4 separate regions of the Homo sapiens genome follow, and all the other regions are linked to region 4. The links are contacts of gene promoters, found by promoter capture Hi-C in blood cells and fetal thymus (Javierre and others, 2016). All regions are on one chromosome and are shown on one strand. Each heading gives the region's core, a stretch centred on a gene start or on the middle of the fragment in contact. The rest is flanking DNA. Distances are from core to core; before and after follow the strand shown.

Evidence for each region. Contacts are between HindIII fragments. The CHiCAGO score rates a contact against its expected background, and 5 or more counts as called.
Region 1: a contact is called between a fragment that was not itself captured here and the fragment with the promoter of MIR155HG in region 4, in 1 of 17 cell types (activated CD4 T cells). The highest score is 5.4, in activated CD4 T cells.
Region 2: a fragment that was not itself captured here is called in contact with the fragment with the promoter of MIR155HG in region 4 in 1 of 17 cell types (activated CD4 T cells); the score reaches 7.3 in activated CD4 T cells.
Region 3: a contact is called between a fragment that was not itself captured here and the fragment with the promoter of MIR155HG in region 4, in 1 of 17 cell types (activated CD4 T cells). The highest score is 7.5, in activated CD4 T cells.

What each region holds. Positions count from the first base shown.
Region 1 is chr21:25,366,560-25,369,679 of GRCh38, reverse strand. No RefSeq gene overlaps it. Among named protein-coding and RNA genes, the nearest start is that of LINC00158, 64 kb to the left of the region's middle. The HindIII fragment of the contact is 4,256 bases long and covers 1-3,120 here.
Region 2 is chr21:25,383,188-25,386,583 of GRCh38, reverse strand. It overlaps LINC00158 (long intergenic non-protein coding RNA 158), which reads left to right. Exons shown (of 5, transcript NR_024027.2): 5 at 246-764. Among named protein-coding and RNA genes, the nearest start is that of LINC00158, 47 kb to the left of the region's middle. The HindIII fragment of the contact is 6,485 bases long and covers 1-3,396 here.
Region 3 is chr21:25,401,134-25,404,383 of GRCh38, reverse strand. All of the region lies in intron 4 of LINC00158 (long intergenic non-protein coding RNA 158), which reads left to right. Among named protein-coding and RNA genes, the nearest start is that of LINC00158, 29 kb to the left of the region's middle. The HindIII fragment of the contact is 5,453 bases long and covers 1-3,250 here.
Region 4 is chr21:25,560,398-25,563,731 of GRCh38, reverse strand. MIR155HG (MIR155 host gene) reads right to left here and starts at 1,587. Exons shown (of 3, transcript NR_001458.3): 1 at 1,475-1,587. RefSeq lists silencers at 1,243-1,522, 1,533-1,622 and an enhancer at 2,003-2,052. The HindIII fragment of the contact is 13,141 bases long and covers 1-3,334 here.

The sequences.
Region 1 (3,120 bases), core at 446-2,945, 190 kb after region 4:
GGGAGCTTTGGCAGTCAAAAAAGTACTTCAGAACTCTCTATGTTACTGTTGTCAACTAGTTCAAACTGCATTTTGTTCTTCATGGGAGCAACAGGGTAAGAAAACCATGTCCTGGAAAATCACAGTGGTGAGAGTTGGCTCTAGATACACCTGTGAAGGATGGAGAGGCAGTTGTATATGCATCTACTACCATTTTCCTTTCTAAATTTTGGTGGAAGTAGAATAAACACAATCTTTGGAGTCAAAGCTGAGTTTAAATCCTGGTCCTAACTTTTATAAGGAAACTGAGACTTAAACTTTGTTTTCTCTAATTTGTACATGGAGTTTCCTGGCTGCCCCTGCCTTGGTTTTTCAACTGGATAATCCCAGGTAAAATGGGTTTCTTATGCTTCAAGAGTCAGTTTGGATGTTATCTTAGAAGCCTACTCTCAATCCTCCAGCTAGACAGGTGATCATTTTCTCTATACTTCATATCACTTATTATATTCTACTTCAATTGCCTATGTACTTTGGAAAGGAGACTTTATTTTTTATAAAGGGTTACAGACTGCAGGGTAGCCATCCTGCCAGGCTGGGAAGTGTAGCCTCCAGCAGAGACTGTTAACAGGCACTGCATAGGAGGGGGGGTTGGGGCAGGAGCTTTACGCTAAACAGGTTGGCTACACATATATATTCAACAGTTATAGGAGAAGCTATGAATATTTACAAAGAAGATCCTGATGCATGCATATTGAATAAACATGCATGTTACATGTGTCCCATTTCACGTTGGGAGTGGAGACTTCACCTTTAAATGCATTACAATTGGGTCAAAAAAGTGAAGCGAAAAAAACGAGGCACTCTAGCATGCAGCCTCTGTAAACTGGCCAGAACCATCCTATAGTTAGTGGCCTCTTATCAGAAGAAAGTTACTGAAATCAGCTTCTGGTTCAATCAAAGCTATAGTTACGGCTTGTGGAACAGGGAGTTAGTCTGCGTCTGGTGGTGGATGAGCTATAATTGTTTTTAATATTGCTTATCTTGAGGCCGATGCTCGTTTAGCCACTATGGAAAAAGAAATCTGGTGGCAGTTAGAACAGAATTTATTCTTTAAGTGTAGGGGTGTGTGACTTAACCCTTGCCTGGTATGGTGTTAGGTCTTTATAATTTGGTATCTTATTGCCACAAAGAGTCTGTTCCATCAGTCTTATGATCTGTTTCAGTGTTAATGCTGGTCAGTTTTCATGTCTAAACCACAAAAAGGAGGGTATCATGAAACATGTTTGAACTCCCATTCCATCATGGCTAGGAATTCAGTTTTTAATATTTCCCTGGGGTCCCATTGGCTAAGAGAGGGGTTCATTCCATCCTTGGGGGCTAGGAATTTTATTGTTAGTTCTCACTTTTTTTTTTTTTTTTTTTGAGACAGAGTCTCACTCTGTCACCCAGGCTGGAGTGCAGTGGAGCAATCCTGGCTCACAGCAACCTCCAGTCTCCCAGGTTCAAGTGATCCTCCTGCCTCACCCTCCCAAGTAGCTGGGACCACAAGCATGCACTACCACGACAGGCTAATTTTTTTGTATTTTTAGTAGAGACAGGTCTCACCATGTTGGCCAGGCTGGTCTTGAACTCCTGGCCTCAAGTGATCCACCCGCCTCAGCCTCCCAAAGTGCTGGGATTACAGGCATGAGCCACCATGCCCAGCCAGTTCTCACTTTTAAGACAGATAACTTCATGGTGCAGTATATGTCACATAAGGTGTGAATAAATATTTGGAAAATTTGATCCATAAAATATGGATAGTAGTAACCATTTCAAAAAGTGACCATAAGAACTAGGAGATGATCACTTCCGTTAAGTTCCTGCCACATAGTAGGCACTCAATAAGTTCTCGATTGAATCTTTCTCCCACTCCTAGCAATGGCAGCAGCCCAGTGGCCTGTCCTTTCCCCCCAACTCCACCAACAGTTTTGTGAGCCAACCCTGCATGGTCTTTTCTCTGCTTTACATCATTGTCATAAATCTCAACTGACACATCAGTGTCTCTGCCACCCCAAGGGGGGCCCTCAGGACAAATATTTTTTCATTAGAGGGGTCCTGCCTTGGCTGGAAGTGTTGAGGTCCTTTGTAGCACTGCCAAAACAAAACACAAACCAAACAGAATTGCCTTCATAATACTGAGACACAGGTGAAAGACTGAGCGGGAGCCTCTATGCACCTTTCAAAAGCTCACCTAAACTACCTGTTGCCAAAGTTCTAAAAATGGTTGTGCATATGCTGTCTCTGCTATTCCTTCTACCCTCAATCATGCCTCTTGGGACAACTGAGTGTTGGGGTCTAGTCGACTCATGGTCTGAACCTTTCTTATTCAAGGAAGAGGGGCATGTGGCGAAGCAGGCTTGTGGTTATAGAAACCCTTGTCCCTTTATAGAGGGCAACCAGATATCATCAGCATAACAAAGGGGAGTAGTATATTTTGATATACACAGTATTTTTATAACAATGATGGATATGATATATTGCTGTCAATTTTTACAATTGGCAGAGATAGAGGTGCTTTTTTCTTAAATCAGAAGGTACATATCTAGAACATCTCTCTCCGGAAAACTAGAAGACGTATGATAAAGAGTAGAGACAGCAGAGTCAGAAGGTGGACAGAGCCACAAGCAGAGCACTTAGGGAGAGCTGGCGTTTGGCTGGCTGGATAGAGTCTACTCTAGTTCTTGCTTATTAGTCAGTCACTGTTTAAGCAGCATAAATGTGTGCAATGTTTGCAAATATGTGTATAATATTTTGCTAAAATAATTTGGTTAAGAGAGAATTTTCCTACGTGTTTTAAAACACAACTAACTTTCAGAGGATAAGAATACAGTAAAATATGCATGACACATGAGTTGCATGGAATAGATTTGTGTTCAAGATTTGGAAATTGACTGAGATTTTTGTAGTATTTCATAGCTGTGTAGTCTAGACAGATAGGGCTTATCGGTGGACATGAAAACAAAATTTGAGGACTCACAGTTCAGTCTAGACTCGGGGTCCAGGGTTAACTATGTAATGGAAGATAGCCTTTGAGAGGGGATGTAGATAACAGAACCCCATGAGAGGCTAGTACAGTGTATAAAACCAAGGTATGAGTTT
Region 2 (3,396 bases), core at 21-2,520, 180 kb after region 4:
AATATGGTGGTCATTGAAAAACAAACATTTGAACAAAGACTTGAAAGAGGTGGAGTAGGTCCCATATGGTATCAGAGGAAAGTGTTGCAGCCAGGGATGTTAAGTTGTAGAAGACCCTAAGGGGACCATGTGTGAGGTGTTGCAGGAGAATCAGGGAGGCCAGTTTGGCTAGAGTGAAGTGAAATCTTTGATGTGATGAAGTGATGATCTTTGATGAAATCTAGTAATGCTTATTTGTTTCATAGGAGAAAAACAAGGAGAGAAAAATCTAAACCCAGCAGAAGAGAAAGTTTAAGAAAGCGGTCGTCGCCAATACCAAAATTAGCTATGATATTCAGGAAGAAAAAAATGGAAACACGATAACCACAGTCAATAAAGACCAAGGCCACATTCCATTGACCAGAGCTCAGCCACGCGCCACACCTGGCTAAAGAGACTCTGGCTGAAGAATTCCCTGAATATTTTAATGTAGCTCTAGGTTATAACACAGAACAACCACAAGGTGGCAGAAGAACTCCATTCTTGTAAATCTCTTAGTTGCTTCTTTATTTCATCTTCCCTATTCCATCTAATGTTCCCTGAATTTTACTATTTTGTTGGTTTGAAAATATGTGTGACTTACGTCCTTTAAAGGATTTGGTTCGTAAGGTTTTGAATAGACTGGAATATAAAACATTTATAGAAAAGAAAAATACCTACAGTATGATGTTAGTGAACTATTAATAATCCAATTAAATAAAATATATTTGCTTTGGATTAATACATATTTTGTTTTGATGTTTGCTAAATAAAACTAAGCATTAGGAGGCCAAATAGCCACAATGAACATTTTCATATTATTTAATAAGCCAGTTTCAAGGCATACATGCTAAATTTGTTCTTAAGGAAAAGTTGAATTTTTGCTTTCATGAAATTACAAACTCTAAGGCAATTTTACACGTGTAAATCCAATGTGTTCTGAAGTTTAAAGTGTCAAAGGCTGTTGGATTTAAACAGATCTTGTATGACTCTCTGTTTCATCTCTTCAGAGGTTGATAGTAAGCAACTTTGGCAGCAACTCACAGCTTCTGCTGTAACATGAGGCTAATAATGACGACTTTATAAGGTTGTTGCAAAGAGTCAGGGATGCCACAAGCAACGTTCTTTATATATGCAGAATTTTAAAAATAAAGTAAATAAAAATATTCCTTCCTCTATTCCCCATTTTTCTAACATTATTTGCAACTGGTGTTTTAATGCAAGACCAAAGGCTAAAATATACATGTAGCTAGCAGAATCAAAACCTAGATCAGATGTTCAAAAGCATCATGCTGCTAAAAGATTTCAGAGTCTAAAACCTGTGCTCACTCTTCTGAAACATCTTTCCACTTCCTGTTTAAAAAAAAACGTGATATTCTTTGAAGCTCATTTTTTGGGCTTCATGTGTTGTAATTATACATTTGTTATATAGGGTATATGATGACTTACGCTCTAAGGTATTATTCAGTACATTGTAGAAAAAGGAGAATAAAGAATGTTGTTTGTCAGTAGGCAGCTCTGTCCTCTTTATCCTTGACTGTAATTTACTAAAGAGCTGACAAAATTACAGCACAGGCAGCAATTCACCATATTACCCTGCAGACAGCCAAGAGACTGACATTGAGATGATGCGTTTTAACTTGGGTCCATGTAAGGAACCTGATGGGGTTATATGAATTCTTTTCTGTACTATGAAAAAATGAAGTTGCTAATAAGAAGGAGGTACAAAAGTGTGTACTCTGCGCAAGGCTACTGATAAAGATGCTACAGGGATGCGTGGAAACCCAATATGTAACACTGAAATGGCTTTTGATTCATTTGTATTTGGTCTCAGACAAGAAAATAGATTAAGAAAAGGTCTGAAAAAATGGAGCACTAGGAAAAATGATAGGAAATTTTGTGTTGTTGATAGTTATCTAATATGAAATACACGTTTGTAATATTTTGACATATATGATTTAATACAACTATATTTTGTAATAAATATCTTTAATTCTAAGGATTGAAAATCTTAAAAGGATCTAAATTTTATAGTTATAGCTGTTTTGTTTCAATAGGCTGATGGACTTGGAAATTCCAGGTTTCTTAAACATATTCGATGAACTTGAAAAGCAGGGGGAGATACTTTCAGATGGCCTTGAATGGGAGCGGGGGGACCCTGGATTTCACTGGACACATCTTTCTTCCTTTCTTCTCTGTAGTTTGGGACCTCTTCTTCTCAACTAGTCAGCAATTATAAGAATGAAAATTACCAGCCGGGCGCGATGGCTCACGCCTGTAATCCCAGCCCTTTGGGAGGCCAAGGCGGGGGGATCACGAGGTCAGAAGATCGAGACCATCCTGGCTAACACGGTGAAACCCCGTCTCTACTAAAAAATACAAAGAATCAGCCGGGCATGGTGGCGGGTGCCTGTAGTCCCAGCTACTCAGGAGACTGAGGCAGGAGAATGGTGTGAATCCGGGAGGCTTATGTTGCAGTGACTGCACTCCAGCCTGGGCGACAGAGCGAGACTCTGTCTCAAAAAAAAAAAAAAAAAAAAAAAAGAATGAAAATTACCTTAGCAGCTATTCAGAGTAGGTCCAAAAGATAATCAAATAAAGAAGATTTCAGTATTCTCAAGGTGGAAGAGACAATGTCTTTGCATCTGCAGTTGGAAAGCCTGGAGTAATCTCCTTCCACTGTGGAAATCCCTTCTGTCCTCAAGGTCTCAAGCATATGATACCTTCATGATGGATTTCCTGACTCTTGGAGTTAAAACGTTCCGTCCCTTGCCTGCACTCACGTAGCCATTAGTTTATCAGGTGTTACATCCTCAAACAGAGCTGCTAGGCCACGTGTGCTCTTTACATACAACCTCTGACGCTGGCTAATGACTACTGGGCTGGCATTTTTCTCAATTCTTAAGAAAAACCAAAACCAGTTTGGTTTTCTTTTTAAGTAGTGGTAAAATAGACATCATGTAAAATCTACTATTCTAACCATTTTTAAGTGTACAATTCAGTGGCATTAAGTACACTCACATTATTATGTAATTATCACTACTCAACAGTTTTTTGTGTGGATTTTTCAGGGTTTTCTAAATATATAATCCTATCATCTGTGAACAGAGATAAATTTAATTCTTCATTTCCAATTTTATTTCCTTTTTTAGAACTTCTAATATTATGTTGAATAGAAGTCAGAAAAAAATGTGTGATTATACTTCTATGAAGCACCTAGAAGTCAAATTCACAGAGCTAGGAAGTAGAATAGTCTACGAAGGGCTTCGGAGAGGGGTAATGAGAGTTATGGTTTAACGGGTACAGTTTCAGTTTGTGTTGATGAAAACATTTTGGGCATGGAATATGAGCTTTTGTCTTAGGTTCTGATTTCAGAGA
Region 3 (3,250 bases), core at 82-2,581, 160 kb after region 4:
GCGGTGAAAGTGGCCATCCTTGTTGTCTTCCAGACCTTACAGGAAAGGTGTTCAGTTTTTCCCCATTCAGTATGGTACTAGCTGTGGGTCTGTCTTATATAACTTTTATTATGTTGAGATATGTTCCTTCTATACCAAGTTTTTTTTTTTTATCATGAATGAAGGGATGTCAAATTTTATCAAATGGTTTTTCAGCATCGATTTAAATGATCATATACTTTTTGTCCTTTGTTCTGCTGATATGATGAATCATATCAGTTGATTTGTATCTGTTGAACCATCCTTGAATCCCTGGGATAAATTTCACCTGGTCGTGATGAATGATCTTTTAAATGTATTGTTGAAAATGTTTGCTAGTATTTTGTTGAGAATTTTTGCAACAATATTCATCAGAGATATTGGCTTGCAGTTTTCTTTTTTTGATGTGCCTTTCTCTGGTTTTGGTATCAGGATAATACTGGCCTTATAGAAGGAGTTTGGAAGTATTCCCTCCTCCTTGAATTTTTTGGAATAGATTGAGTAAGACTGGTATTAGTTTTTCAAATATTTGGTAGAATTCAGCAGTGAATCCATCAGGTATTGGGCTTTTCTTTGATCGGAGACTTTATTACAGCTTTGATCTCATTACTTGTTATTTGTCTATTCAGATTTTGGATTTTTTCATGGTTCAATCTTTGCAGGTTGTATGTATCTAGGAATATATCCATTTTTTTCTAGGTTTTCAAATTTTTTGGCATACATTTTCTCATAGTAGTCTCTAATGATTCTTTGAATTTCTGTGGTTTTAGTGTAATGTCTTCTTTTTCATCTCAATTTTATTTATTTGACTTTTCTCCCTTTTTTCCCCATAGTCTGGCTAAAGGTTTGTATTAGTCCATTTTCACACTGCTGATAAAGACATATGTGAGACTGGGAAGAAAAAGAGGTCTAATGGACTCACAGTCCCACATGACTGGGGAGGCCTCACAATCATGGCAGAAGGCAAGGAGGAGCAAGTCAAGTCTTGCATGGATGGCAGCAAGGCAAAGAGAGAATGAGAATGAAGCAAAAGTGGAAACTCCTTATAAAACTGTCAGATCTTGTGAGACTTATTCACTATCATGAGAACAGTATGGGGGAAACCGGCTCCATGATTCAATTATCTCCCACCAGGACCCTCTCACAACATGTGGGAATTATGGGAATACAATGTAAGATGAGATTTGGGTGGGGAAACAAAGACAAACCATAACATTCCACCCTTGCCCCCTGCCAAATCTCATGTCCTCACATTTCAAAATCAATCATGCCTTCCCAACAGTCCCCCAAAGTCTTGACTCATTTCATCATTAACTCAAAAGTCCACAGTCCAAAGTCTCATCTGAGACAAGGCAAGTCCCTTCTGCCTATGAGCCTGTAAAAATAAGTTAGTTACTTCCTAGGTACAATGGGGTACAGGCAATGGGTAAATATACCTGTCCCAAATTGGGGGAAGTTGGCCAAACAAAGGGGCTACAGGCCTCATGCAAGTCTGAAATCTAGCAGGACAGTCAAATCTAAAAACTGCAAAATGATCTCCTTTAACTCCATGTCTCACATCTGCATCACGCTGATGCAAGAGGTGGGTTACTGTGGTCTTGGGCAGCTCTGCTCCTGTGGCTTTGTGGGTACAGTCTCGCTCCTGGCTGCTTTCATGGGCTGGTGTTGAGTGTCTGTGGCTTTTCCAGGCAAACAGTGCAAACTATCAATGGATCTCCCATTCTGGGGTCTGGAGGACAACTCGTCTCACAACTCTGCTAGGCAGTGCCCCAGTAGGGATACTGTGTGGGAACTCCAACCCCACATTTTCCTTCTGCACTGCCTTAGCAGAGGTTCTTCATGAGAGTCCTGCTTCTTCAGAAAACTTCTGCCTGACATCCAGGCATTTCCATATATTGTCTGAAATCTGGGCAGAGGTTCCCAAACCCCAATTCTTGACTTCTGTGCACTGGCAGGCTCGACACCATGTGGAAGCTGCCAAGTCTTGCAGCTTGCACCCTCTGAAGCCACAGCCTGAGCTCTACATTGTCCCCGTTAAGCCACAGGTGGAGCAGCTGGGAACCAGGGCAGCAAGTCCCTAGGCTACACACAGCAGGGGGACCCTGGGCTCGGTCCACATAACCACTTTTTCTTCCTAGGCCTCCGGTCTGTGATGGGAGGGGCTGCTGTGAAGACCTCTGACATGCCCTGGAGACATTTTCCACATTATCTTGGGGACTAACATTCAGCTTCTTGTTACTTATGCAAATTTCTGCAGGTGGCTTGTATTTCTCCTCAGAAAATGGTATTTTCTTTTCTATTGCATTGTCAAGCTGCAAATTTTCTCAGCTTCTATGCTCTGCTTCCCTTATAAAACTGAATACCTTTAACAGCACCCAAGTCACCTTTTGAATGCTTTGCTACTTAGGAATTTCTTCTGCCAGATACCCTAACTCATTTCTCTCAAGTTCAAAGTTCCACAAATCTCTAGGGCAGTGGCGAAATGCTGTTAGTCTCTTTGCTAAAACATAACAAGAGTTACCTTTGCTCAAGTTCCCCAAAAGTTTCTCATCTCCATCTGAGACCACCTCAACCCAGACCCTACCATCCATATCGCTATCAGCATTTTGGGCAAAGACATTCAGCAAGTCTCTAGAAAGTTCCAAACATTCCCACATTTTCCTGTCTTCTTCTGAGTCCTCCAAACTGTTCCAACCCTTGCCTATTTCCCAACCCCAAACTTACTGCCACAATTTTGGGTATCTTTTCAGCAGTGCCCCACTCTACTGGTACCAATATCTGTATTAGTCAGGGTTCTCTAGAGGAACAGAACTAACAGGATATATATATATCTATGGAGTTTATTAAGAAACTCACACAATCACAAGGTCCCACAATGGACCATCTGCAAGCTGAGGAGCAAGGAAGCCAGTCTGAGTCCCAAATCTGAAGAACTTGGAGTCTGATGTTTGAGGGTAAGAAGCATCCAGCACAGGAGAAAGATGTAGGCTGGGAGGCTAAGCCAGTTTAGTGTTTTCATGTTCTTCTGCCTGCTTTTTTTTCTGGCCATGCTGGTAGCTGATTAGATAGTGCCCACCCAGATTAAGGGGGGGGGTCTGCCTTACCCAGTCCACTGACTCAAATGTTAATCTCCTTTAGAAACACCCTCACAGACACACCCAGGATCAATACTTTGCATCCTTCAATCCAATCAAGTTGACATTCAGTATTAAACATCACAAGGTTTGTTGAT
Region 4 (3,334 bases), core at 338-2,837:
ACAGCCTAATAAGGAGTAGTCCTTGCAGCAGAAGTAATTACTAAATGTGCTTTGGTCATTTGACAGAAATCAGGGAGGCAGCAAGGAGTCATGGAAATGAGCCCAAACTGAGAGTCAAAACCCTGTGGTCTGCCGACACCCCCATCCCACATCCGTACCTAAAAGCAGGCTGTGCACTAGGGACCTAGTGACCTTACTAGAAAAAACTCAAATTCTCTGAGCCACAAGTCCTCATGGGCAAAATGTAGATACCACCACCTAACCCTGCCAATTTCCTATCATTGTGACTATCAAATTAAACCACAGGCAGGAAGTTGCCTTGAAAACTTTTTATAGTGTATATTACTGTTCACATAGATAAGCAATTAACTTTACATATACCCGTTTTTAAAAGATCAGTCCTGTGATTAAAAGTCTGGCTGCCCTAATTCACTTCGATTATACATTAGGTTAAAGCCATATAAAAGAGGCACTACGTCTTCGGAGAGATGAATGGATATTACAAGCAGTAATTTTGGCTTTGGAATATACACATAATGTCCACTTGACCTCATCTATTTGACACAAAATGTAAACTAAATTATGAGCATCATTAGATACCTTGGCCTTTTCAAATCACACAGGGTCCTAGATCTGCTGTGTGATGCTGGAAAAGTAACTTCACTTCTGTGGGCCTCAGCTCCTTAATTTTTAACATACTTTGGATTCTTATATCTTTGTCAGCTGTCAACTTCAGTGTTTTCAGGTTAAATTCTATCCATAGTCATCCCAATATACCTGCTTTAGATGATACAAACTTCAAAAGATCCGGCTCTCCCTCGTAAAACGTGGAGGACAGACATCAAGGGGGTTTTGTGAGTAAAGAAAGGCAACCGCTCGGCAAAAACGCACCCTGGCACAACAGGAGCGAATAAATACAGACGCTGATTGAGCGTTTGCTCCATCTTCACTTCTGTTAAATGAAGACATTGATATCTAAAATGCTATGAGTCTAACTTTGTAAAATTAAAATAGATTTGTAGTTATTTTTCAAAATGAAATCGAAAAGATACAAGTTTTGAAGGCAGTCTCTTTTTCCACCCTGCCCCTCTAGTGTGTTTTACACACTTCTCTGGCCACTCCAACAGGGAAGCTGGTCCAGGGCCATTATACAGGTACGTCCCCAACCATCCAAGGAAACTTTGCAAAGAAGCTCAAGTATTAGGTTTCGAACACCCCTCCTTCCCCCTGCCTCTGCCCGCGGGAATCCATCCAGCGCAATCTCTGGTCCCGGGCGAGGCGACACCACTGAGTCCCCAGGGGGCACCCGCAGGCGCGCGCGGGACCAGGCCGGGCTCCACGGCCACGTGCGCGCTGCCCCCGCCTTGCCTCGCCAGTTAACCCGGCGGTGACCCTCGCACCGAAGTCCCCCGGCGTCCCTGCCACGTTCAAGAGAGGAAAGGCGGGCGGGAGCGCGAGACTGAAGTCGGCGTACCTGCAGTGCCAGGAGCGTCTCCTTGGTTCCCCGCGCTTGCTCTGCGGGCGGCTCGGGGCTCCGCTATCCGCTCCCTTCCCGAGGCTGCAGGCGGCGCTGGGCCCGGGCTCGGCCGCGCACAGGAAGCCCGCGCCTGCGAACGTGCGACCCTTTTATAACTCACTTGTGACTCATAACCGACCAGGCGCCTTTTCTGCAACCCCCCCCCCCTTCTCCCCCCTCCTGCCTGTTCTTGGAACCTACAGCTTGAAAAACTTTTTTCTTTTTAAAGGAAAAGTCGAAAAAGCCCAGCGCCCGGGTAGTTGGTGTTTTCCCCTTTCCCTTTCTCGTGGGTCATTGCGTGTGTGTATTTTTTTTCTCTCAACACACGCCGTGTACTTTCCTGCACCGCGCCGCAAGGCTTGGGCTCCAACCTTTGTTCTTAAAGAAAAGGAAACGCCTTCAAATGACGGCCCAGACGTCGCCCGAACTTTCAGTCGGCTGGAGGGGGAAGTGGCGACTTCTTGCAACTGGGTGGCAGGAGTGTCTCTACTCTCTCCTTGCAGGGAGCCCGAGAGGAGCAAGTGGGAGGTTTTTCCTCCTGGACCGAATCAGCTGGAGACCAGCAGGTCCCTAAGAGAGGAAGAAATGGTCTTCAGGCGATCCTGGATTTCATCCCTACCTCATCACCCTTCAAGAGCCCGCGTTTGGTTTGGAATACGTAACTGGGCTTTGAGAACGTTTGTACTGTGTCTGGTACCCGCATTTATACTCGGGATGTCAAGATATAGGACTTAAAACTTCAAAAATTTTGACCTCAACAACATTCTCCCCCTGCCCTCCACTCCCATCTCCAGGACATATTCCTGGAGCATATGGGACTTCGGTCGTTTTAATTTTTGGTTTTGTCGCTTCTCTCTTTTCTCCCGGACCCTGCCACAAGGGGAACATTTTCCTGGAGCAGCCATTTGATTTTGGGGGATGGAAAGGAACAAATAGATCTAAAGCCTGGCAAGTTTATCCTACAAGCCTAGTCGAGTAACTCATTCATGGGTCTCAGTTCAATAAACGTTTAGACTTGAAGAAGAATAAGGAAATATGGGGAAGAGAAGGAGGACAGGAATAGATCTAGCCTCATCAACATGTGACTGGGGCCTTTTTGTAAGAAAGACGGGGCCACTGCTGGATTGCATTGCAAGTATCCAGTACTTGGACCTCCCTGTCAAGGGCACAAGACATTTTAGAATAGTTTGTATTAAACTGATGCCAGTTACATGTCAGAATACATGTCAGAGCTGGAAATCCCATAGTACTTAATTTACAGATGGCTCAGGTTGGTTAAGGAACTTGGGAGCATTTTAAAACCCTCTATTCTTAAGATACATGCTTTTTCTCTTATAATTCAAACAAGAATAATCATGATGATAACAACTAACACTTATAAAGCATTTACCATGTGCCAGATCCTGTCCTAACACTCCTTATATGCATTAACTCTTTCAGTCCTCACTATGATCATATGAGGGAGGAGCATTATAATCTCTATTTCCAGATGAGGAAACTGAGCACAGAGAGATTAAACATGTTACCTTAGATCCTAGTAAGTAGTCAAGCTGAGATTCAAACTCAGTTCCAACCCTGGAGGGCTGGCTCCGTAGTCCAGTCTCCCTGCTTTCCAGATCCATGTGACGTTGAGGAGCTGGGGAAGTTGTGCAGTGGGGCATGTGGCAAGGATGCATGGTCCCCACCCAGGTGGGGCACGTCCCTCTGCTGGTTACAGATGCCTACAATGCCTTTCTGAATTTCCCATTTCTCATTCTAGGTTGAACTATAAGAAATTGCCCATAGGCAATTCTAGGGTGACCTTTCATCCCCAGAATG